Linked DNA regions of Homo sapiens: regions 2, 3, 4, 5, 6 and 7 are each linked to region 1. The links are contacts of gene promoters, found by promoter capture Hi-C in blood cells and fetal thymus (Javierre and others, 2016). All regions are on one chromosome and are shown on one strand. Each heading gives the region's core, a stretch centred on a gene start or on the middle of the fragment in contact. The rest is flanking DNA. Distances are from core to core; before and after follow the strand shown. Region 1 holds the start of SETD5 (SET domain containing 5). Region 2 holds the start of GHRL (ghrelin and obestatin prepropeptide). Region 3 overlaps TATDN2 (TatD DNase domain containing 2). Region 4 overlaps IRAK2 (interleukin 1 receptor associated kinase 2). Region 5 has its middle 4.0 kb from the start of IRAK2. Region 6 holds the start of BRK1 (BRICK1 subunit of SCAR/WAVE actin nucleating complex). Region 7 overlaps FANCD2 (FA complementation group D2).

Region 1 (2,933 bases), core at 303-2,802:
ATGACCTTGGTCACAAATATGTCATCTAAAAACTTGTTTAGTCAACTGATGAAGGTAATTAGCACAGAACTTGGGGATTCGTTCAGTACCTATGTGCAGGAAGGAAACTGGAGAAATGAACTTAAATATAGACAAAGCCCAGTGGAACCCAGAGGTCTGGGAAAGAAATGAGTTACCGGTGAATACATTGCACAAGTAACATGAGAAAGCAGAAAATGCAGGTCATACACGCACCCCTGACCCAGACCAGCAGAGCTGACTGCAGCATCCATATCCAAGAGAAAGACCACTGACGCCCAAGAAGTGAGACAAGCAAGGACTCTATAGAATCAATTAGCATAGAAGGGGCTTTCCCAACAGTTTAACTTTCCCTCTCATGCGATTTACCTACTTGAACCAGGGCTCTTTCCTACACTCCTCTTCACATTCCCGACTTACACGCAGAGGGAAAGAGAATTCATAAAGGGAATATTTTTCTGCCTTTGAAGATATTCTCACAAGATCGTTCTCCACGCCCAAGGCAAGTAAAACGACACAATCTGGCTCAACTCCAGGCTCGAACCCTACACATTCAACGAGGCTATCTCAGACACGCTGTGGCACACGCCACGGGGAGCCAGAGAACGTGTGGTGGGGGTGGCGAAGGTAATGCCTTTGGGAAGCAGCCATCTGAGGTGGGAAGCCAGAAAACGAGAGGGAAGGCGTCCAGGAAGATTACGGAGGGGAGATCGCGGCCCCCAGAGCGATCAGAGTTGTCTGTCACAAGGCCGCGAGAACGGGGGTAGGGAGTGGGGGATCGGGGAGAGAAAAAAAGTATGCCTGTGTATTTCGAGCGGAGGGCAGCAAGAGGCCTCTCCTCAAGGGAAAGGTAAACGTGGAGTAGGCAGTTCCCAGGAAAGGGGGTGAAGAGGCGTTGGGGGAGGGGAAGCGTCCTGACCCAGGAAAAACATGAAAGGGGGAGTTGGGTCGCCTAGATTAGAGGGGGATCTCTCTCCCTGGGAAAATGGGGTGTTGCAACGGTGTGTGCAAGGCGGCGAGGGGGGTGAGAAGTGGCAGCATCCTCCTAAGAGCTTGGGGAGGGCCAGGCCCACGACCCAAGGAGAGCGAGCGCGGGGAGACGGAGGAGGTGACCCTTCCCTCCCCTGGGGCCCGATCGTGAGGTTCGGTCTCTTTTCTGTCGGACCCTTACCTTGTCCCAGGCGCTGCCGGGGCCTGGGCCCGGGCTGCGGCGCACGGCACTCCCGGGAGGCGGCAGGACTCGAGTTAGGCCCAACGCGGCGCCACGGCGTTTCCTGGCCGGGAATGGCCCGTACCCGTGAGGTGGGGGTGGGGGGCAGAAAGGCGGAGCGAGCCAAAGGCGGGGAGGGGGGGCAGGGCCAGGGAAAGAGGGGGGCCGGCACTACTGTGTTGGCGGACTGGCGGGACTGGGGCTGCGTGAGTCTCTGAGCGCAGGCGGGCGGCGGCCGCCCCTCCCCCGGCAGCGGCGGCGGCGGCGGCGGCGGCGGCGGCGGCGGCAGCTCACTCAGCCCGCTGCCCGAGCGGAAACGCCACTGACCGCACGGGGATTCCCAGCGCCGGCGCCAGGGGCACCCGGGACACGCCCCCTCCCGCCGCGCCATTGGCCTCTCCGCCCACCGCCCCGCACCCATTGGCCCACTCGCCGCCAATCAGCGGAAGCCGCCGGGGCCGCCTAGAGAAGAGGCTGTGCTTCGGCGCTCCGGCTCCTCAGAGAGCCTCGGCTAGGTAGGGGAGCGGAACTCTGGTGGGAGGGGAGGTGCGGTACACTGGGGGGATGGGTGGCTAGGGGGGCCGTCTGGTGGCTTGCGGGGGTTGCCTTTCCCGTGGGAAGTCGGGAACATAATGTTTGTTACGTTGGGAGGGAAAGGGGTGGCTGGATGCAGGCGGGAGGGAGGCCCGCCCTGCGGCAACCGGAGGGGGAGGGAGAAGGGAGCGGAAAATGCTCGAAACCGGACGGAGCCATTGCTCTCGCAGAGGGAGGAGCGCTTCCGGCTAGCCTCTTGTCGCCGATTGGCCGTTTCTCCTCCCGCCGTGTGTGAAAACACAAATGGCGTATTCTGGTTGGAGTAAAGCTCCTGTCAGTTACGCCGTCGGGAGTACGCAGCCGCTTAGCGACTCTCGCGTTGCCCCCTGGGTGGGGCGGGTAGGTAGGTGGGGTGTAGAGATGCTGGGTGTGCGGGCGCGGCCGGCCTCCTGCGGCGGGAGGGGAGGGTCAGTGAAATCGGCTCTGGCGCGGGCGTCCTCCCACCCTCCCCTTCCTTCGGGGGAGTCGGTTTACCCGCCGCCTGCTTGTCTTCGACACCTGATTGGCTGTCGAAGCTGTGGGACCGGGCCCTTGCTACTGGCTCGAGTCTCACATGAGCGAAACCACTGCGCGGGGCGCGGGGGTGGCGGGGAGGCGGGCGTTGGTACGGTCCTCCCCGAGGCCGAGCGCCGCAGTGTCTGGCCCCGCGCCCCTGCGCAACGTGGCAGGAAGCGCGCGCTGGAGGCGGGGGCGGGCTGCCGGCCGAGACTTCTGGATGGCGGCGGCCGCGGCTCCGCCCCGGGTTCCCACCGCCTGAAGGGCGAGACAAGCCCGACCTGCTACAGGCACTCGTGGGGGTGGGGGAGGAGCGGGGGTCGGTCCGGCTGGTTTGTGGGTGGGAGGCGCTTGTTCTCCAAAAACCGGCGCGAGCTGCAATCCTGAGGGAGCTGCGGTGGAGGAGGTGGAGAGAAGGCCGCACCCTTCTGGGCAGGGGGAGGGGAGTGCCGCAATACCTTTATGGGAGTTCTCTGCTGCCTCCCGTCTTGTAAGGACCGCCCTGGGCCTGGAAGAAGCCCTCCCTCCTTTCCTCCTCGCGTGATCTCGTCATCGCCTCCATGTCGAGTCGCTTCTCGATTATGGGCGGGATTCTTTTGCCTAGGCTTAAGGGGCT
Region 2 (2,933 bases), core at 132-2,631, 900 kb before region 1:
CAGAAGCCACTGGAGGGGAACAGAAGACACGAGAGAGGCAAAGTGTTAGAGCTTTGGCCCCAAGATGGCCGGAGGCTAGGGAAGCCCCAGTGAGAGAGGCAGAGCTTGGCGAAGAGGAGGGATGAGAGAGCATGGCTAAGGTCAGGGAGGATTTAAGAGCGATGGCCGCCTATCTAGAATGAGCCGCATGTGGCTGCTGAGCATTTGAAACATGGCTAGTCCAAATTGAAATGCACTGTAAGAACACACACTGGATTTCAAAGACTACACATCTGTAATCCCAGCACTTTGGGAGGCAAAGTCAGGCAGATCACTTAAGCCAGGAGTTCAAGACCAGCCTAGGCAACATGTCAAGACTCTGTCTCTACAAAAAATACAAAAATTAACTGGGTGTGGTGGTGTGACCTGTAGTCCCAGCTACTTGGGAGCCTGAGGTGGGAGGATCATCTTAGTCCAGGGAGGTGGAGGCTGCAGTGAGCCATGATAGTGCCACTGCACTCCAGCCTGGGTGACAGAGCAAGAACCTGTCTCAAAAAAATATATATGTATATTCATTTAGACATATGCTGTTGCACACTTAGACTATAGTATGGTATCAGCATACGTTTTATATTTACTGGGAAACCAACAAAATTCGTGTGACTTGCTTCATTGTGGTCTGGGACCAAAGCTGTAATGCCTCCAAGGTATGCCTGTATATTTCTATTGCAAAATGTGAATCTCGAAATTATAAAAGCTACAACTAGGACAAAAAGCAACCCCACCAAATAGCCCTATATCAAAGAATAAAATCTCTTTCTAGAACCCCAGAATTTGCCTCTTTCAGACTGAAGTTTAGCCAAATCTATGAAAAAAGAGCTTGCTAAACCAACTAATTATCAGTACAAATAAAATTATAATGAAAAGTCTATGAAGATAATTTGTTCTCAGATGCCCTTCACATATAGCAATTAATTCACAAATGATGAGTCACTCATGTGCCTTCATGAAGGCAGGCCCTCAAGAGACCCGCAACAGAAAGGAAAGCCACCGACTGGAGAGAACCTGCTTCCTGAGCCCCACCAAGTTCCAAAAAGGAGAATGGGGCTTCGTCCTCACCCTCAAGGAGTTGCCAAACTGGGCTTGGTTATTATTCACACTTGAAAAGAATGAGGAAGGTCAGCCAGTCCCCTCCAGGTCGCTCGGGCTTCCTCCAAGCTCCTCTTGGTTCAAATTTGCTGTGTCCTCCAGCCGGCATCTCTCCTCTGTTCCGTAACTGACAGGGCAGCGAGGTAGCTTCCGGATGACTCCTCCCGCCATGGTTCTTCCGTCCATCAGCTCTTCCTTCCTCAACTCTGTGGTATGTGGCTAGGGGAGTTTCCAACTCCCAGGGGACATTTCAGTTCCCCAAAGATAACACAGCTTTGCACAGTGGATGTTTACTTGCTGGTGGTCTTATCTAAGATCAACATTGGCAGCTGTGCCCGGAGAGGCCTCCAGGGTCCAGGTAAGTGGAGGCTTCATGTCTCAGGAGGTACCTGGTCACCACAGTTAGGATTTTTCTGTTTGGGGATTTTTTTTTTTATGGGTTGGTGGCTCTGAAAAAGCTGCAAGTCTTCTCTGAGGACTACAGACCTCTCTCCACCCTCTCCACATTCAGCCTCTCTGGGCTCCAGGGCCAAAAGATGTCTACACTCAGGTGGCAGACAGGCCTGTGAAGACCTCCTGGTGACATGCTCATATGTTGCTGGGACTAAAGGTGGGATTTTAGCCACCACAGTGGGTTGGTGGTGAGATGTTTACCAACAGGAGGTACTTTGTCCCTCATGTCCACTTAAAGATTCAGTCCAACCCGGCCTGTGCTTCTGCTGTCCCAAGAGACTCTAGAAAGCTCCAATCCTCCCTGAGGTTGATCTTTTAAGTCAGGGTAGGTGGTCATTCGGCAATCAACTGCTCTACTGCCTCAATGTCCTCCTCACTGGACGTCCTGCCCCAATTCCATCCTGTTCAGCGCAGACTGATTTTCCTGGAACACAATGTTCATTATGGAGCCAGATGGCATATCAGAAAGAGCACTGTATTAGGAGTCAAGAGATCCATGGGGGAATCCCAGCATTGCCCCTGATGGCTGTATAGCTTTGGGGAAAGTGAGGCCCTCTTGGCATTCAGTTTTTCTTCCAGCGAAATAAAGGATTCAGCCTCCCAGAGCTTTAAAGTCTTTCCAACTCTTTCATTCATTCTATGGTCTCTCTCTCCTCAAGAATCCTCAGTGGCTGCCCTCCTGCAAAAAAAGCCCAAACTTCTTGGGCTAGCAGTTCCCAAGGCATCCATCACCTGGCCCCAAACCACCTTCTTATGTTTTTGTTATGACCCCATCGCCACCCTCCCCCAAGCCACCCAGCCTTCTCCATGCTGCCCTGATGTACTCTACCCACGCCTTCACCTCCCCTCTGCTTGCCGCAAAGCCCTCCCTCCAAAGCCCTGCCCCGAGTTCACCACAGGCCTCTTTCCTGGAGCCTTTGCTAACATCCCTGCCGCAAGCCCCAGCCTAAGGTGAGCTCCTCTCCTGAACTGCTAGAACTTCTCTGCAGACAACTCATTGGCCCTTAGGGGTTCCTGCCTGGGCACCCAGTTGGATGAAGCACTCCAGAAAGGAAGAAATTCCTGGGGCCGAGGGAAATGAGGCAGTGGCCTTGGCCTATGCTGGGAAGTCCTATGGGCCTGGTATGAAACCATTGTCATCTGCAGGGTGTTTCACAGGTTAGAAGCCACTTTCCCCCCATCGCCTCATTTCACCCTCAAAGACTCTGGGTAAGGGGAATTATTTGTGGTCGGCGTAAGGCCAGTCAATGAGAGAGGAGCCAGGCCCGTGCTAAGCGTAGATCTTCCACCTCCAGGTCCAATGCACTTCCCTCTCAGAAGAGGCATCCGCTAAAATAGGGACCAAAGCTGCT
Region 3 (2,933 bases), core at 164-2,663, 860 kb before region 1:
GTGAGCTGAGATCACGCCACTGGACTCCAACCTGGGTGACAGAGCAAAACTCTGTCTCAAAGCAAAAGAAAATAAAAAATAAAAAATCATATACCAAGGTTCAGGAACCAGCATAGCTTCAGACATCAAGAAAACCAGAAGAGGCCAGGCGAAGTGGCTTACACCTGTAATCTCAGTACTTTGGGAAGCCTAGGCAGGTGGATCACCTCAGGTCAGAAGTTTGAGACCAGCCTGGCCAACATGATGAAACTCTGTCTCTACCAAAAATACAAAATTAGCCAGGTGTGGTGGCGTGTGCCTGTAATCCCAGCTACTCGGGAGGCTGAGACAGGAGAATCACTTGAACCCAGGAAGTGGAGGCTGCAGTGAGCCAAGATCACACCAGTGCACTCCAGCCTGGGCAAGACAGAACGAGACTCCACCTCAAAAAAAAAAAAAAAAAAAAAAAAGCCCAGAAGAAAAGGAGCAATGCCTTCAAAATCCCAAACAAAACAATTTCCAACCTGGAATTCCAAAACCAACCAAGCTTGTAATCAAGGTTAAAGGTAAAATAAAGGCAATCTCAGACACATGTTTACCAAAAAAAGTTTCTCCATGTACCCTTTCTCAAGAAGCTACTAGAAAAAGTATTCCACCAAAATGTGAGAGTAAACCAAGGAAGAAGAACATGAGAAGACACAGAGTATAGGTAGCAGAAGACTCAATCCGGGAGAAATGTGAAGGAGGCTCCAGAGAGACAGCTGCCAGCTGGCCTGACGGCAGGCAGTCCAGACCAGAGCAGGACAACAGAGGGCTGAGGACGTATACCTCCAAGAGAGAAAAAAAAGAAACAGATTCCTTATTTTGACAGTATTGAGAAGGATTTTACAGCTCTCGCAGTTTGGGGATTAATTAGTGAAAGGTACCAGGAAAACCAAAGGAAAAACAAAGTAATGATGAACTTTAAGGAAAATGAAGTTTTACAAGAAAGAAAATGTGATCAGAGTATACAAGGCGACTCAGCTGTGAACATGGCAGTAACAAATCTTACACAGACTTAACCCAAAAGGTATTCAAGCCACACAGGGAGGCTGCAGAAAGGGGAAGCTAATGTGTCCCTGGGTGTGGGTGCTTCTGAAGGAGGTATAGAGAACTAAATTCTCATCGCCCAAGCAAGAAGTCCTCAGACATCTAAAACTGAAAAACTGATCAACAGTAAAGATTATTTAGAAACATGGGGTAAGTACTAGAAGAAAGAGCTAAAGATGAGAGAAGCTGCCTGCAGAGCAGTAGTAAAGGATGGGTGGAGACGAGTAAGATGGAGGAATGTGGCCTGGCACAGTGGCTCATGCCTGTAATCCCGGCACTTTGGGAGGCCAAGGCAGGTGGATCACGAGGTCAGGAGTTCGAGACCAGCCTGGCCAACATGGAGAAATCCCATATCTACTAAAAATACAAAAATTAGCCGGTTTGGTGGCGCACACCTGTAATCCCAGCTACTCAGGAGGCTGAGGCAGGAGAATTGCTTGAACCCAGGAGGTGGAGGTTGCAGTGAGCCAAGATTGCACCATCGCACTCCAGCCTGGGCAACAGAGCAAGACTCTGTCCCAACAACAAAAAAAAAAAAAAAAAGAAAAAGATGGAGGAATGCTTCCCCTCAATTATAAGCTATGTTAAAAATCACTAGTTTCCGTCCAATGACATCCTTCCCTTCTTCTCTGGTTATCCAGGTACAAGTCTGCCTAGATAAAGGCTGATTTTCCAGACTCCCTTGCAGCCAGGTGTCAGCCGGGTTTCCCCGCTCTTGTCAACAGCAGATACAACATGTGCAACTCTTGAGCCAAGCTCTTAACAGGGAAGGAATGCACTCTCCTCTTCTCCCCTTCCCACTGGCCAGAATGCCCAGATAACAAACCCTGAGTCCTATCAGAGTATCCATTTCACACCAAGAGATGGACACTGTGTTGAGGGGTGATAGAGAATCAAGACAAAAGGTACCAGTATCTCTGACATGATGGAGCCATCCTTCTTAAGCCAAACTTATATTCTGTTTAAGCCACTGTGATTTTGGCCTTTTACACAGCAGCTAAACCCATATCCTAACATATAAATCCTTCAAAAAAAAAAAAAAGCACTTAGTTTAGGTTTATTAATAACTCTGAAAATCTGAAAAGTATGTTAGAAGAAAACCATCAGTTTGTTCCCTGGAGGCCTGGTTAAGTAAAGTACTATTTTTAATTAGTAACACTTAGGATCAAACTAGAAAGATGGAACACATTTCATCAACAGAACTAAAAAGTCAGATGCCTGGTACAAGCTTTACTCACCTTTTGGATTTCTAAATGAGAGTCAGAGTCATCCAAGAACTCTAGGGGTGGAGAGCATTTGTCAATGACAGTCCTTCGGTCCCCAAGGGGCTCCTCACTGGGTTTCTCTTGAGGGTCTATAACTACTCTCCTGTCATAGAAGCTGCTCCTCTCTGGCACTGTCTTATCCTCCTCCATGCTGACCTCTGGGGTTGCGTCTTTCTCCTTCTGAGCAGCAGTGACTGTGACACTCCTGGCTGCTCCTTCTGCAGTCTTGGCTGGTCCTTCACTCCTGGCTGGTCCTTCTCCATGGCTGGGATGCTCTGCTGCGCTTGGTTTTGCCCGAGTGGCAGCCTCTCCCTTCCTTTTTGGCATCGATTTCCCCAGGATGCCCTGGATAGCCTTCAGGTAGATCATTGTGGAGCCCTGGTCTCGAAGTCTATCCCTCTTCCTTTTCTGGACCTTGTTGGGTTCCTCAATTGTATCATTCTGACCCTCAGCTTCAGCTGCAAATTCAGAGTTTGTGGAGTTATGAGAACTATCTTTGGAATCAACCTGGGAAAAAAAAAACAGAATTGAAAGGGCTGTTCCAAGGGCACTTTCGTACATGAAGCATTTGGCAAATTATAAATCAGTGGTGGTTCTACC
Region 4 (2,933 bases), core at 280-2,779, 810 kb before region 1:
GGAACCGCTGCTCCAGACTAACTTGAGTTCCATCCTGCTGCCAGGCCTGGCCACAGGGCAGGGCTGTCTCTGCACACAGGGTCCTTCTGTGCCCAGTAAATCTGAGGTCAGAGCTTGCCTCACACAAGTCATGAGTTTCCTATCTGACTTAATGCCTGGGGTTTGCTCAGGAGGCTCCCCCAGGCCTCTCAGTTTGGGGGAATCCCTGAGGCCTGCTCCTGCGACACATGAGGGCTATTAGTTGGGTTTATTTATCCCTGTGGTCTTGGGGAAAAGAAATGGACTCTGGTCTGGAAAATCAGACAGGACCCACCAGCCATTACTCTCCATCTCTCCCTACCCAGCCCTCCCCTCCTCTGGGGTCTAATCGGATTGGCTCCTCGTGCCTAGGGTAGTTATCTGTGGTAGGAGAAACTCACAACCATAATCTTTAAAGGCCCCCACTGTATGTCCAAGGGCAGAGAGAGGAGAATGAGAAGGAATTCTCCAGCTATCAAGGATATGAAAATCTCCCTGGATTCCATACAAACTAATCAGAAGTTGGCCATGGGTGGATCATTACTGAAGCCAGCTGATGGGGACATGGAGGGTCATTATGCTCTTGGCTTTTGTATGTTTGTAATTTTTTCATATAAAAATGTTTTAAAATAATGGCTAAGGGAGGGGAGGGAGATGGGGCAGGAGAGTAGATGAACAAGATGGGATACTTGTTGGGTGATAGTGATAGATGGGGCTTGGGGCTTCTACATAATCTTGTTTCCAAGAGTGAGGCACAGCTAATCAGAGGTCAGATCAAGTGCCAGGACTTAGCTAAAAAACAAACCATTTCCTATGGAAATGCTTCCAGAAGCTTTCTTTTTCTTGCTTTTCTTTTTTGCTCTGTTTTGTTTGTTTTTGTTTTTGAAACAGAGTCTTTCTCTGTCACCCAAGCTGGAGTGCAGTGGCGTGATCTCGGCTCACTGCAACCTCCGCCTCCCAGGTTCAAGCAATTCTCCTGCCTCAGCCTCCCAAGTAGCTGGGATTACAGGCGCCTGAGACCATGCCTAGCTAATTTTTATATTTTTAGTAGAGATGAGGTTTCACCATGTTGACCAGGCTGGTCTCGAACTCCTGACCTGAGGTGATCCGACTGCCTTGGCCTTTTTGTTGCTATTCTACTGAGGCTAATATGCCTGCTTTCTCAAGCAAAATGCACCACCTCTGGTCCTGCCGAGCTGTGTCATTGCAGGTACAAGAATTGCAGAAGCAGCGGCACTGTATCTGACATGGGGTCTTCTATGTCCTGCCCTGATGCTGGCAGCGGGTCTACCCCCAGCTGCCCCATCTCCTTTATTAGTATCAAACAGAATTTGGCTCAAGCGCTGGCTCCAGCACTACTCAAGATCTGACCTCAGATGAGCTGTGCCTCACTTATCTGAGCTTTCTCAAATGTAAAAAGAGCAATAATGGTCTGTTTCTTGTCCAGGTAAAAAGAGCTGATGTTTATAGAGCACAAAGGTCAGGCTGTGACACATGCAGTACTTGGTATTTTACCAAGGCTGGTGAAACTATGTGTAGAGTAAGTAAACAGATTCTGACTGATAGCCCAGTGGCCTCTCCTACAGCTAAGGCTTTGTAACAGTTATTTCAGCTGCTCAAAACCCTTTCATCTGAATTCTAGCTTCGAGACTGCTTTGCCGAGGTGCTCATAGCCTATCCATGGCTCCTCTGCTCACATATTTTCCTCCTCAGCCAGGCGCGGTGGCTCATGCCTGTAATCCCAGCACTTTGAGAGGCCGAGGCAGGTGGTCAAGAGATCAAGACCATCCTGGTCAACATGGTGAAACCCCGTCTCTACTAAAAATACAAAAAATTAGCTGGGCGTGGTGGCGCGCACCTGTAGTGCCAGCTACTCGGGAGGCTGAGGCAGGAGGATCACTTGAACCCAGGAGGCAGAGGCTGCAGTGAGCCGAGATCGCGCCACTGCACTCCAGCCTAGTGATAGAGCGAGACTCTGTCTCAAAAAACAAAACAAACAAACATATTTTCCTCCTCCATGTCTCTTCCCACTTCCTTCCCACCTACTGCAAGGGGGAGCCAGGGTATCACAGGGATCAAGATGTGGGCTCAGTATACTTCACTCCTACCAAAATCCTTTAAGATAATTGATGAGTTTGAACTCTGGGGCTCAGTGGAACCTTGGGGTTTTCCCGAAAGAAGACAAGCTTTGGGTGGTTTGATGAAATGAATGATTTCTTATTTTCAATTTAGGCAAAGATAGACAATCAACTTCCTGTCTCTGCCTGCAAATTGTAGTTATCATCTTGACCTGCCTGGGCACATTTGCTCCAAGTGCCATCAAGAAAGCAAATAGGGGCTGGGTGCAGTGGCTCACGCCTGTAATCCCAGCACTTTGGGAGGCCAAGGCAGGTGGATTGCTTGAGCCCAGGAGTTCAAGACCAGCCTGTGCAACACAGCGAAACCCCATCTTTACAAAAAATACAAAAATCAGTCAGACGTGGTGGTGCGTGCCTATAGTCCCAGCTACTCAGGAGGCTGAGGCAGCAGGATCGCTTGAACCCGGGAGGCAAAGGTTGCAATGAGCCGAGATTGTGCCACTGCACTCTAGCCTGGGTGACAGAGATTCCATCCCACTGCCAAAAAAAGAAAGTAAGTAAATAGGGCTCTGTGCAGTGGCTCATGCCTGTAATCCCAACACTTTGGGAGGCCAAGGTGGGAGAATCGCTTGATCCCAGGAGTTCGAGACCAGCCTGGGCAACATAATGAGATCCCATCTTTACAAAAATAAAAAATTAGCCGGCCGTAGTGATGTACACCTGTAGTCCCAGCTACTTGAGAGGCTGAAGTGGGAGGATTGCTTCAGCCAGGGAAGTTGAGGCTGCAGTGAGCTATGACCGTGCCACCGTCACCTAGCCTGGGCAACAGAGCAAGGC
Region 5 (2,933 bases), core at 158-2,657, 760 kb before region 1:
TGACTCTGGACAACTCATTTCATTCGTCAAGCCTTGTTTCCAGCATCTGTAAAGTGGGCCTGCTCCTTCCTACTGCTTAGAGTTGTGAGGGGAGTGGAATAAATCAAATTATGTAGCCTATATAGAACACCTACTACAGGGCTTTCCTCGCACAGAGAATGTGCCCAAAAAATGGTAGCTGTCATTAGTGGTCTTGAAAAGGCACCCACTGGCCTTGGAGTCCTATCAAGTTTGGAGACCTGGTTCAGCCACTCTCCGGCTCTTAGTCCTTTGAGCCAGTTCTGTTTTCCCTTTTGGAAACTGGATCTCCTGCTGCAGCCACTTGGAAGGATTGTTATGAAGCCTAAATGGACTCCAAAACGCTCAAGATCAACTGTGAAGTGCTGAGCCCAGTAAAGGATTACTATTATGTCCTCCTTGATGTTGAAAGTGGGACATATTTCAGTGTTCTGAGACTACTTTTCAAGTGAAGTCCTGTGTTTTCAGCAGTGGCTGAAGGTGGACTTGGGAACTGTAATGATTGTTTGCCATAGGCTGGGTGGAGAAGCATCTCCATCCCAGGCACACGGGGGTAAAAGAGAATAAAGATCCTCTTCTTTTTCTCCTTTTCTCTTTTTGCAGAGTCCCCTACCTGCTTCTCCTTCTCTTCCGCAAGCAGCGTGTGTGTAGAGCTCCTCCCTCAGTGCCACAGGGCCTCTTCCCTGGGGTGAGGCTTTAAGACCACGGAAGTTTCACATTCAGCCTTGGTCAATCCTGGAAGGCAGAGGAGCCCCCACTGCTCTCTCTGCTGCATCCTCAGGCCCTTCCCGCAATTCCTTCTCACCCCAGCCTCAGGGCTTGGGATCTGTGTCCTAGGATTCTGTCTTCCAGAGAAGCTTGAGTCATTTTGGGCCTGAGCAGGTCATCACAGGGACACATCTCAGTTACCACTCTTTAGAATAAGTTCTTCAAAGTAAGGTCTTTGCTATTACTAATGGTTGCCCTTCACCTACCAACTCACCTAGCAGGCATTTAGCATACATTATCTGTAATCCATACAACCCTGCAAAGGTTTATTGTTTCTGTTTTACAGATGAAGAAACTGAGGCTGAAGTCAATTGTAACTGGGCCAAGTTGGCCAAGTGACAGTGAGGTAGGGGGCAGCACTCGACTCGAAAGGAATGGCTGGGACATCGGACCAAATTGAGGACTAGCTAAAACAGGTGTGGTGGGAAGTACCTCGCATAAGACACTGCCACCAGTGTACCTTGTCAGTTTACCATTGCCATGGCGACTCCAAGAAGTCACCGCCCCTTTCTAGAATGTTCTGCATAAACTGCCCCTTAATTTGCATATAATTAAAAGTGTGTATAAATGTGACTGTAGAACTGCCTCTGAGCCACTACTCTGGGCACACTGCCTATGGAGTAGCCCTACCCTGCAAGGAGCAGTACCTCTGCTGCGGCTGCACACTGCTATTTCAATAAAAGGTGCTATTTAACACCACTGGCTGGCCCTGGAATTCCTTTCTGGGTGAAGCTAAGAACCCTCCCAGGCTAAACCCCAATTTGGGGGCTTGCCTGTCCCGCATCAACAGGATGCAACTCAAGTCTGACCCAAAGCAAATGCTCTTTCTGCTGTGTTATACTGCCTCACCACAAGAAATTTCCTCTGATCTTGCAGTTAATTTCTTCCTCTGGCTATTTTCCATGACCAACACCCACCAGGATCAGTTAGAAACAGTTATTGAGGCTGAATGTAATTAATTACACACTTACGTCATTTTGAGCTGTTCAAGTTTAATTCCCTTGAAATTATAGTCAGTGGTTTGCAACCCTGGCTGCACAGTAGAAACATCTGGGGTGCTTTTAAAAAGTATAAATGCCTAGCCCTACCTCCAGGGAGACAGATTCAATTATTCTGGAGTGGGGCTCAGGCACTACTGTTTTTTAAAGCTTCCCAGATAATTCTAATATGTGCTGGCACAGTTGAGAACCAGTCATATCAGAAAGCTGGGGCAGAGGCCAAGCATGGTGGCTCATGCCTGCAATCCCAGCACTTTGGGAGACCGAGGTGGGTGGATCACTTGAGGTCAGGAGTTCGAGACCAGCCCAACCAACACGGCGGAACCCCGTTTCTACTAAAAATACAAAAAAATTCGCTGGGCGTGATGGCACGCACCTGTAATCCCAGCTACTTGGGAGGCTGAGGCAGGAGAATCATTTGAACCCGGGAGGTGGAGACTGCACTGAGCCAAGATCATACCACTGCACTCCAGACTGGGGGACACAGTGAGACTCCATATCAAAAAAAAAAAAAAAAAAAAAAAAAAAGCTGGAGCAGGAGGGAAGACTGATGAAAGGAGAATAATAAAGCTTCTCTATGCACTTTGCATATATTTTTCTTTTTTTTTCTCTCTTTTTGAGACGGAGTTTTGCTCTTGTTGCCCAGGCTGGAGTGCACTGGTGTGATCTTGGCTAACCGCAACCCCTGCCTCCTGGGTTCAAGCAATTCTCCTGCCTCAGCCTCCTGAGTAGCTGGGGTTACAGGCATGTGCCACCACACCCAGCTAATTTTGTATTTTGAGTAGATACGAGGTTTCTCCATGTTGGTCAGGCTGGTCTCAAACTCCTGACCTCAGGTGATCCACCCACCTCGGCCTCCCAAAGTGCTGGGATTACAGGCATGAGCCACCGCGCCCGGCTATATTTTTTTTTAACAAAAATATCTTTATTGGTTTCTCTGATAGCATGTGATATTTGTCAAAGACAGAAAGAAAGAGAAAACAAACACCTTCCCATAACCTCATCCCTGAGGAATCACCATTATTGTTTGGAGTATATACTCCTTTTACATGTTTTTAGTCCTATACAAAATGATTTTTTTTTTTTTTTGAGAAGGAGTCTCACTCTGTCACCAGGCTGGAGTGCAGTGGCGAAATCTCGGCTCACTGC
Region 6 (2,933 bases), core at 244-2,743, 720 kb before region 1:
AGTGATCCTCCTGTCTCAGCCTCCCGAGTAGCTGGGACAACAGGTGTGCATGACCATGCCCAACTAATTTTTTTGTTGTCGTTGTTTTGTAGAGATAGGATCTGGTCATGTTGCTCAGGCTGGTCTTGAACTCCTGGGCTCAAGCAATCCTCCCACCTTGGCCTCCCAAAGTGCTGGGATTACAGACATAAGCCATTGAACTCAGCCACGATTATAGTCCTAAACACCCTGTATGAAAATACTTTAATACAAAAATGATGCTCTTCTTTGTCCTGAAGTTGTCATTATTTCATCTTCAAGATTAGAACTTCTTTGAATGTAGGAAGTGGTTCTTATTCTGTGTCTCCCACTATGCCTTAAGAGAGGGCCTCATATGGAGCTCTAGCATCTCTCGCTGATGCTTTCTGACAATCTCTTGCTCTGTCACCTTTGTACTCCTAAGGCCATCAGTCCTTTAGTTAGAGAATCATTCATTTAAAAATCTTTCCAAAGTACACTAGTCCCTATATCCTGTAATTACACAAGAAAGTCTAACCAGTGCCAAGTTCTGTTAAACACTTGGAGAAGAAGGGGTAGGAATCTCGATTGCTTTGCTTGCTGTTCATAAGGAAGAATTTAAGGCTGTCACAAGCAGGCCATGCCTAGGAAAGATTCTGGTAAAGATATCTTTCTGCTGAAGGCACCCGACCTGTGTTAGCTCTGAGGAATGGGCTAGAAGCAGACAGAACACCTACCATAAGCTATATATACTAGCAATACAGAGAGGACTTCCAAGGTCCTACAAGATCCTGGCATCCCTCTGACCTCATCTCCCACCACTCTCACCGCAGCAGACACAGGAAACAGGAAGGAATGGACAAGACGGGAGTGGTTGACAACGGGTCCAACTAAAAGGCACGACGCTAGAGGGTATCGACCAGATCCTGAAGATGGGGAACGGTCAACAGTCTTGAAACAGAGGAGTGACACGGTCCCGGATGCTCACTTTGAGTGCAAAGTGGGGACCGGAATGGATGCAGAGTACAAAGGAGGCAGGGAGACCACTTAGGAGAAGAACCACGGAGCGAGGATGGGGCTGCCTGACGCGTCTAGGAGAAGGACTTGTAGAATGGATCCAGAGGGATGGCAGGAAGCCATGAGCTCAGCGTAGGGCAGGATAACCCTACAGAGACTGTCTACGGGAGCCTGAGGGTCAGGGCGGGAGGGAGAAGGTGGGACCTGAAGGAGGAAGTGAAAACCCGCAACAGCCGAAGGCTGCGGGAGTCCTCTCAAAGCATCTCCCCGGCGCCCCAGCCCAACCACCTCAGCGGCCTCCCTCCTCCCCGCCTCCCCTTGCTGGCCCGCTGACCGAACGAGTTGAGAAAGTCTGCGATTTTCTTGATGCTGCTGGTGATTATCTCAATGTACTCCCGGTTAGCCCAGTCCTGGTGAATCTCCCGCTGCACCGGATCCTCCTGTCCCGCCATGGCCGCCGCCTGAGGAAGAGCGACTGCGCAGGCGCCCCGACCCTACAGGCCTCTAGTGCGCCTGCGCTGCCAGGCCACACCCATCCTCTTGAGCACCCACGAATTCTCGGGCACTATGATAGGCCTGTGCAACGTCACGTCCTCGCCGGCGTTTGCTCTCTACTCCCACGCTATAGAACACAGAAGCCTGGACGCCGGCGGCGAGGTTGTAGTGCACGCGCGTTATGGTCGTTACACGGCGCGTGGGGTCTTGCCGTCTCCCTCAACTGCTCCAGGCTCAGGTTGCGCACTCAGTGTCCGCAGTGAGATGGGCACAGTCGATTAAATCACATTAAATACAAGTCTTTTTTTTTTTTAGACGGAGTCTAAAAAATAATATGGTCATAAATAGCTGGGCACACTGCAAACTGGAACAGTCCCTTTCAGAAGGAAATTTGTGTTTTTGTGTTGTTTTTTGAGACAAGGTTTTTTCTTGTTTTTTGTTTTTTTGAGACGGAGTCTTGCTCTGTCGCCCAGGCTGGAGTGCAGTGGTGTGATCTCGGCTCACTGCAACCTCCGCCTCCCAGGTTCAAGCTATTCTCCTGCCTCAACCTCCCGAGTAGCTGGAATTACAGGCGCACACCACCACGCCCGGCTAATTTTTTTGTATTTTTAGTTGAGATGGTGTTTCACCATGTTGGCCAGACTGGTCTCGAACTCCTGACTTCAGGCAATCCGCCCGCCTCGGCCTCCCAAAGTGCTGGGATTACAGGTGTGAGCCACCTCGCCCAGCCTGAGACAAGGTCTTACTGTCGCCCAGGCTGGAATGCAATGGCATGATCATGGCTCACTGCAGCCTCGAACTCCTGGGCTTGAACTCCTGGGCTCAAGCTATCCTCCAGCCTCAGCCTCTGGTGTAGTTGGGACTACAGGCTCACGTCACCACGCCTGGCTAATTTGTGTATTTTTTGTAGACACGGGGTTTCACCATGTTGGCCAGGCTGGTCTCGAACTGACAGGTGATCTACCCACCTCGGCCTCCCAAAGTGCTGGGATTATACGCATGAGCCACCATGCCCGGCCTATTATGCAGTCATTTAAATGCTAATTATGAACACAAGCAACATGAAAACACATACAATAAATTGAGGGGAAAAACAAAATACCCTCCCTCCCTCCCTTCCTTCCTTCCTTTTCTTACTTTTTTTTTTTAAGACAGAGTTTCTCTGTTAATGCCCAGACTGGAGTGCAATGGCACGATCTTGGCTCACTGTGACCTCTGCCTCCCGGGTTCAAGTGATTCTCCTGCCTCAGCCTCCCAAGTAGCTGGGATTACAGGTGCCCGCTACCACACCTGGCTATTTTTTGTATTTTTTAGTAGAGACGGGGTTTCAGCATGTTGGTCAGGCTGGTCTCCAACTCCTGACCTCAAGTGATCTGCCCACCTCGGCCTCCCAAAGTGCTGGGATTACAGACATGAGCCACCCT
Region 7 (2,933 bases), core at 152-2,651, 630 kb before region 1:
TGGATCACAAGGTCAGGAGATCAAGACCATCCTGGCTAACACGGTGAAACTCCGTCTCTACTAAAAATACAAAAAATTAGTCAGGCATGGTGGCGGGCGCCTGTAGTCCCAGCTACTTGGGAAGCTGAGGCAGAATGGTGTGAACCTGGGAGGTGGAGCTTGCAGTGAGCAGAGATCGCGCCACTGCACTCCAGCCTGGGCGACAGAGCAAGACTCCGTCTCAAAAAAAAAAAAAAAAAAAAGACTTAGCTTTGATAGCAGATAGCCACTAAGTGTTCTAAAAAAGACCTGCCATAACCTTAGCAAGATAGAATAATCTGCTCCCCCAAAACAGAATCTTATATGGCTTTATAAATTTTCTTCTGAAATTATTCTGACACTGATACAGCTGCTTTCTGGATATTTATTTTTTCATAAGAAAACACAAAATAAATAATATATAATATTTTTTCTAATAAAAGGATGAGAAATGCTTTACTTAAGACATAGTAATGAGGACCAAAGACTGTACCATTTTCTTTTTCCATTTTTGTTTTTTGGAAATGGAGTCTCACTCTTGTCGCCCAGGCTGGAGTGCAGTGGTGCGATCTTGACTCACTGCAACTTTCACCTCCCGGGTTCAAGCAATTCTCCTGACTCAGGCGCCCAAGCAGCTGGGACTACAGGCACATGCCACCATGCCCGGCTAATTTTTTATATTTTAGTAGAGACGTGTTGCCCAGGCCGGTCGCAAATTCCTGAGCTCAGGCAATCCGCCTGCCTCGAGCCTCCCAAAGTGCTGGGATGATAAACGTGAGCCACCGCGCCCGGCCTGACTGTACCATTTTCTAAAAAGCAATTTCAACTTTGTCTCAAGATGGATGGCCCTCTGATTTCTAATCTTCATTGCCTCTCTATTTAGAAAACCCATGATTCAGTCCTGAACTATTTCATTAAACCCAGAGAATAAAATTAGATTAAAATATTACCTAGTTGATTCTGACTCTCTCCCGTTTTAAGAATAATTCCTGATATCTTAAGAAGCTTTACAAAGATGCTGTCATTTTCTTCAACTTCATTAGCAATATGAGATTTCTTTGTCTTTTTGGAAAGTGGTTGCTTCCTGGTTTCTGAAAATAGAAAAATTTTCAAGAATATGGCAAATAGTAAAGGAAAAATTAAAACTTAAACCCAGGAATAATAATCATGAGAGGAAAACTGATGTGTCCTTAAAAATTATACTAGGATTGATGCTGTAGTGAAATAAACTGTCTTCAGCAATAGTGGCTTCCAAAACAAACAAATAGAATTATTTTCACCTATTTTCATTTGAAGAATTCAAAATGTGCCATTTCTGGCCAGGCAAGGTGGCTCATGTGGTAATCCCAGCAAATTAGGAGGCCAAGGCAGGAGGATCACTTGAAGCCAGGAGTTCAAGACCAGCCTGGGCAACAAAGTGAGACCACCCCCCCATCTCCCCCCCTTCACCCCCATTCCCCCCCTCCACACACAAACTAGTTAGGTGAGGAGACGCACACCTGTAGTCCCAGCTACTTCGGAGGCTAAGGCGGAAGAATAACTTGAGCCCAGGAGGTTGAGGCTATAGTGAGCTATGATATTACCACTGCACTCCAGCCTGGGTGACAGAGTGAAATCCCCATCTCTAAAAAAATAAATTCAAACAAATAAGTGCCTAACAAGAATAACCCACAGAAATGTTTTCCACCCAAATACTAAACTAGCCAGTGTCTCTCAAGCTGTTGCCTGCAAACCACTGTACTGGAATCCCTGGGAAGCTTATTAAAATGCATATTTCCGACCCAGCACAGTGGCTCACGCCTGTAATCCCAGCACTTTGGGAGGCCGAGGCAGGCTGATTACCTGAGGTCAGGAGTTCAAGACCAGCCTGGCTAACGTGGTGAAACCCCATCTCTACTAAAAATACAAAATTAACTGGGTGTGGTGGCGTGCGCCTGTAATACCAACTACTCGGGAGGCTGAGGAGGAGAATCACTTGAACCCGGGAGGCAGAGGTTGCAGTGAGCCCAGATCGCGCCACTTCACTCCTGCCTGAGCAACAGAGTGACACTCTGTCTCAAAGGAAAAAAAAGGCATATTCCATGCCATATACCAGAGTTACTGAGTCAAAATCTTGGGAATGGGACCTAGGAATCCGAATTTTTTATGTTCTTCAGATAATAATCCTGATACACACCAAATTTGAGACTCAATGATCTGAATAAAGGGTAGACAGAATGGGGAAGGTTCTTTGTATCATATCTTTGACTACAATGCTCAGATAGGTTTAATCCCAAGACTTTCAACCCATAAAAAGAAATAAGAAACAAGAAACAAACAGGTACTTGAAGCCAAGTTTAAAATTTACTCTTCTCCCTTAATGATGCCATTTTGTTTTTTCCTTCTTCAATTCCTCTCCCTCTTTCTTTTTTTTTTTTTTTTGAAATGGAGTCTTGCTCTGTCGCCCAGGCTGGAGTGCAGTGGCGCGATCTTGGCTCACTGCAAGCTCCGCCTCCCGGGTTCATGCCATTCTCCTGCCTCAGCCTCCCAGTAGCTGGGACTACAGGTGCACACCACCACGCCCGGCTAATTTTTTGTATTTTTAGTAGAGACGGGGTTTCACCATGTTAGCCAAGATGGTCTCAATCTCCTGACCTCGTGATCTGCCCGCCTTGGCCACCCAAAGTGCTGGGATTACAGGCGTGAGCCACCGTGCCTGGCCTCCTTTCCCTCTTTCTAATAAAGCCTTAATCAGAATGAGACAAAGACCACTACCTTCCTGAATGAAATGTAAAACACAACCAGAATGAAAGTTTCAGTTTGTTCATTACTGACCAAGAGAACCCAAATCCCTTCTAATAAACTTAATTCAGAAGTCTCTTCTCTTTTGGAGAACAGTATTTCCAAAGTATAACATTTACTTTCAGTAATTTCCT

What was found. Contacts are between HindIII fragments. The CHiCAGO score rates a contact against its expected background, and 5 or more counts as called.
Region 2: the fragment with the promoter of GHRL here is called in contact with the fragment with the promoter of SETD5 in region 1 in 2 of 17 cell types (neutrophils and total B cells); the score reaches 6.6 in neutrophils.
Region 3: a contact is called between a fragment that was not itself captured here and the fragment with the promoter of SETD5 in region 1, in 8 of 17 cell types (neutrophils, fetal thymus, naive CD8 T cells and 5 more). The highest score is 8.2, in neutrophils.
Region 4: a fragment that was not itself captured here is called in contact with the fragment with the promoter of SETD5 in region 1 in 1 of 17 cell types (neutrophils); the score reaches 6.8 in neutrophils.
Region 5: a contact is called between a fragment that was not itself captured here and the fragment with the promoter of SETD5 in region 1, in 1 of 17 cell types (naive CD8 T cells). The highest score is 5.9, in naive CD8 T cells.
Region 6: a contact is called between the fragment with the promoter of BRK1 here and the fragment with the promoter of SETD5 in region 1, in 5 of 17 cell types (fetal thymus, total B cells, activated CD4 T cells and 2 more). The highest score is 9.1, in fetal thymus.
Region 7: a fragment that was not itself captured here is called in contact with the fragment with the promoter of SETD5 in region 1 in 5 of 17 cell types (total B cells, neutrophils, naive B cells and 2 more); the score reaches 8.5 in total B cells.

The regions. Positions count from the first base shown.
Region 1 is chr3:9,396,234-9,399,166 of GRCh38, reverse strand. It overlaps SETD5 (SET domain containing 5), which reads right to left and starts at 1,552. Exons shown (of 23, transcript NM_001080517.3): 1 at 1,190-1,552. It overlaps THUMPD3-AS1 (THUMPD3 antisense RNA 1), which reads left to right and starts at 2,544. Exons shown (of 4, transcript NR_132781.1): 1 at 2,544-2,607. RefSeq lists an enhancer at 685-734 and a silencer at 1,345-2,654. The HindIII fragment of the contact is 6,018 bases long and covers 1-2,933 here.
Region 2 is chr3:10,291,395-10,294,327 of GRCh38, reverse strand. GHRL (ghrelin and obestatin prepropeptide) reads left to right here and starts at 1,381. Exons shown (of 6, transcript NM_016362.5): 1 at 1,381-1,486; 2 at 2,877-2,933. GHRLOS (ghrelin opposite strand/antisense RNA) reads right to left here. Exons shown (of 6, transcript NR_073568.1): 6 at 879-2,260. RefSeq lists enhancers at 1,189-1,483, 1,294-1,543, 1,554-1,623. The HindIII fragment of the contact is 7,186 bases long and covers 1-2,933 here.
Region 3 is chr3:10,260,044-10,262,976 of GRCh38, reverse strand. TATDN2 (TatD DNase domain containing 2) reads right to left here. Exons shown (of 8, transcript NM_014760.4): 3 at 2,307-2,840. Among named protein-coding and RNA genes, the nearest start is that of TATDN2, 13 kb to the right of the region's middle. The HindIII fragment of the contact is 1,770 bases long and covers 529-2,298 here.
Region 4 is chr3:10,202,718-10,205,650 of GRCh38, reverse strand. The region is part of intron 3 of IRAK2 (interleukin 1 receptor associated kinase 2); the gene reads right to left. Among named protein-coding and RNA genes, the nearest start is that of IRAK2, 39 kb to the right of the region's middle. The HindIII fragment of the contact is 1,354 bases long and covers 853-2,206 here.
Region 5 is chr3:10,159,421-10,162,353 of GRCh38, reverse strand. No RefSeq gene overlaps it. Among named protein-coding and RNA genes, the nearest start is that of IRAK2, 4.0 kb to the left of the region's middle. The HindIII fragment of the contact is 1,059 bases long and covers 878-1,936 here.
Region 6 is chr3:10,114,235-10,117,167 of GRCh38, reverse strand. It overlaps BRK1 (BRICK1 subunit of SCAR/WAVE actin nucleating complex), which reads right to left and starts at 1,493. Exons shown (of 3, transcript NM_018462.5): 1 at 1,349-1,493. The coding sequence starts at 1,466. RefSeq lists enhancers at 896-945, 1,396-1,685. The HindIII fragment of the contact is 6,229 bases long and covers 1-2,933 here.
Region 7 is chr3:10,031,008-10,033,940 of GRCh38, reverse strand. FANCD2 (FA complementation group D2) reads right to left here. Exons shown (of 44, transcript NM_001018115.3): 3 at 969-1,109. Among named protein-coding and RNA genes, the nearest start is that of FANCD2, 6.0 kb to the right of the region's middle. The HindIII fragment of the contact is 752 bases long and covers 1,026-1,777 here.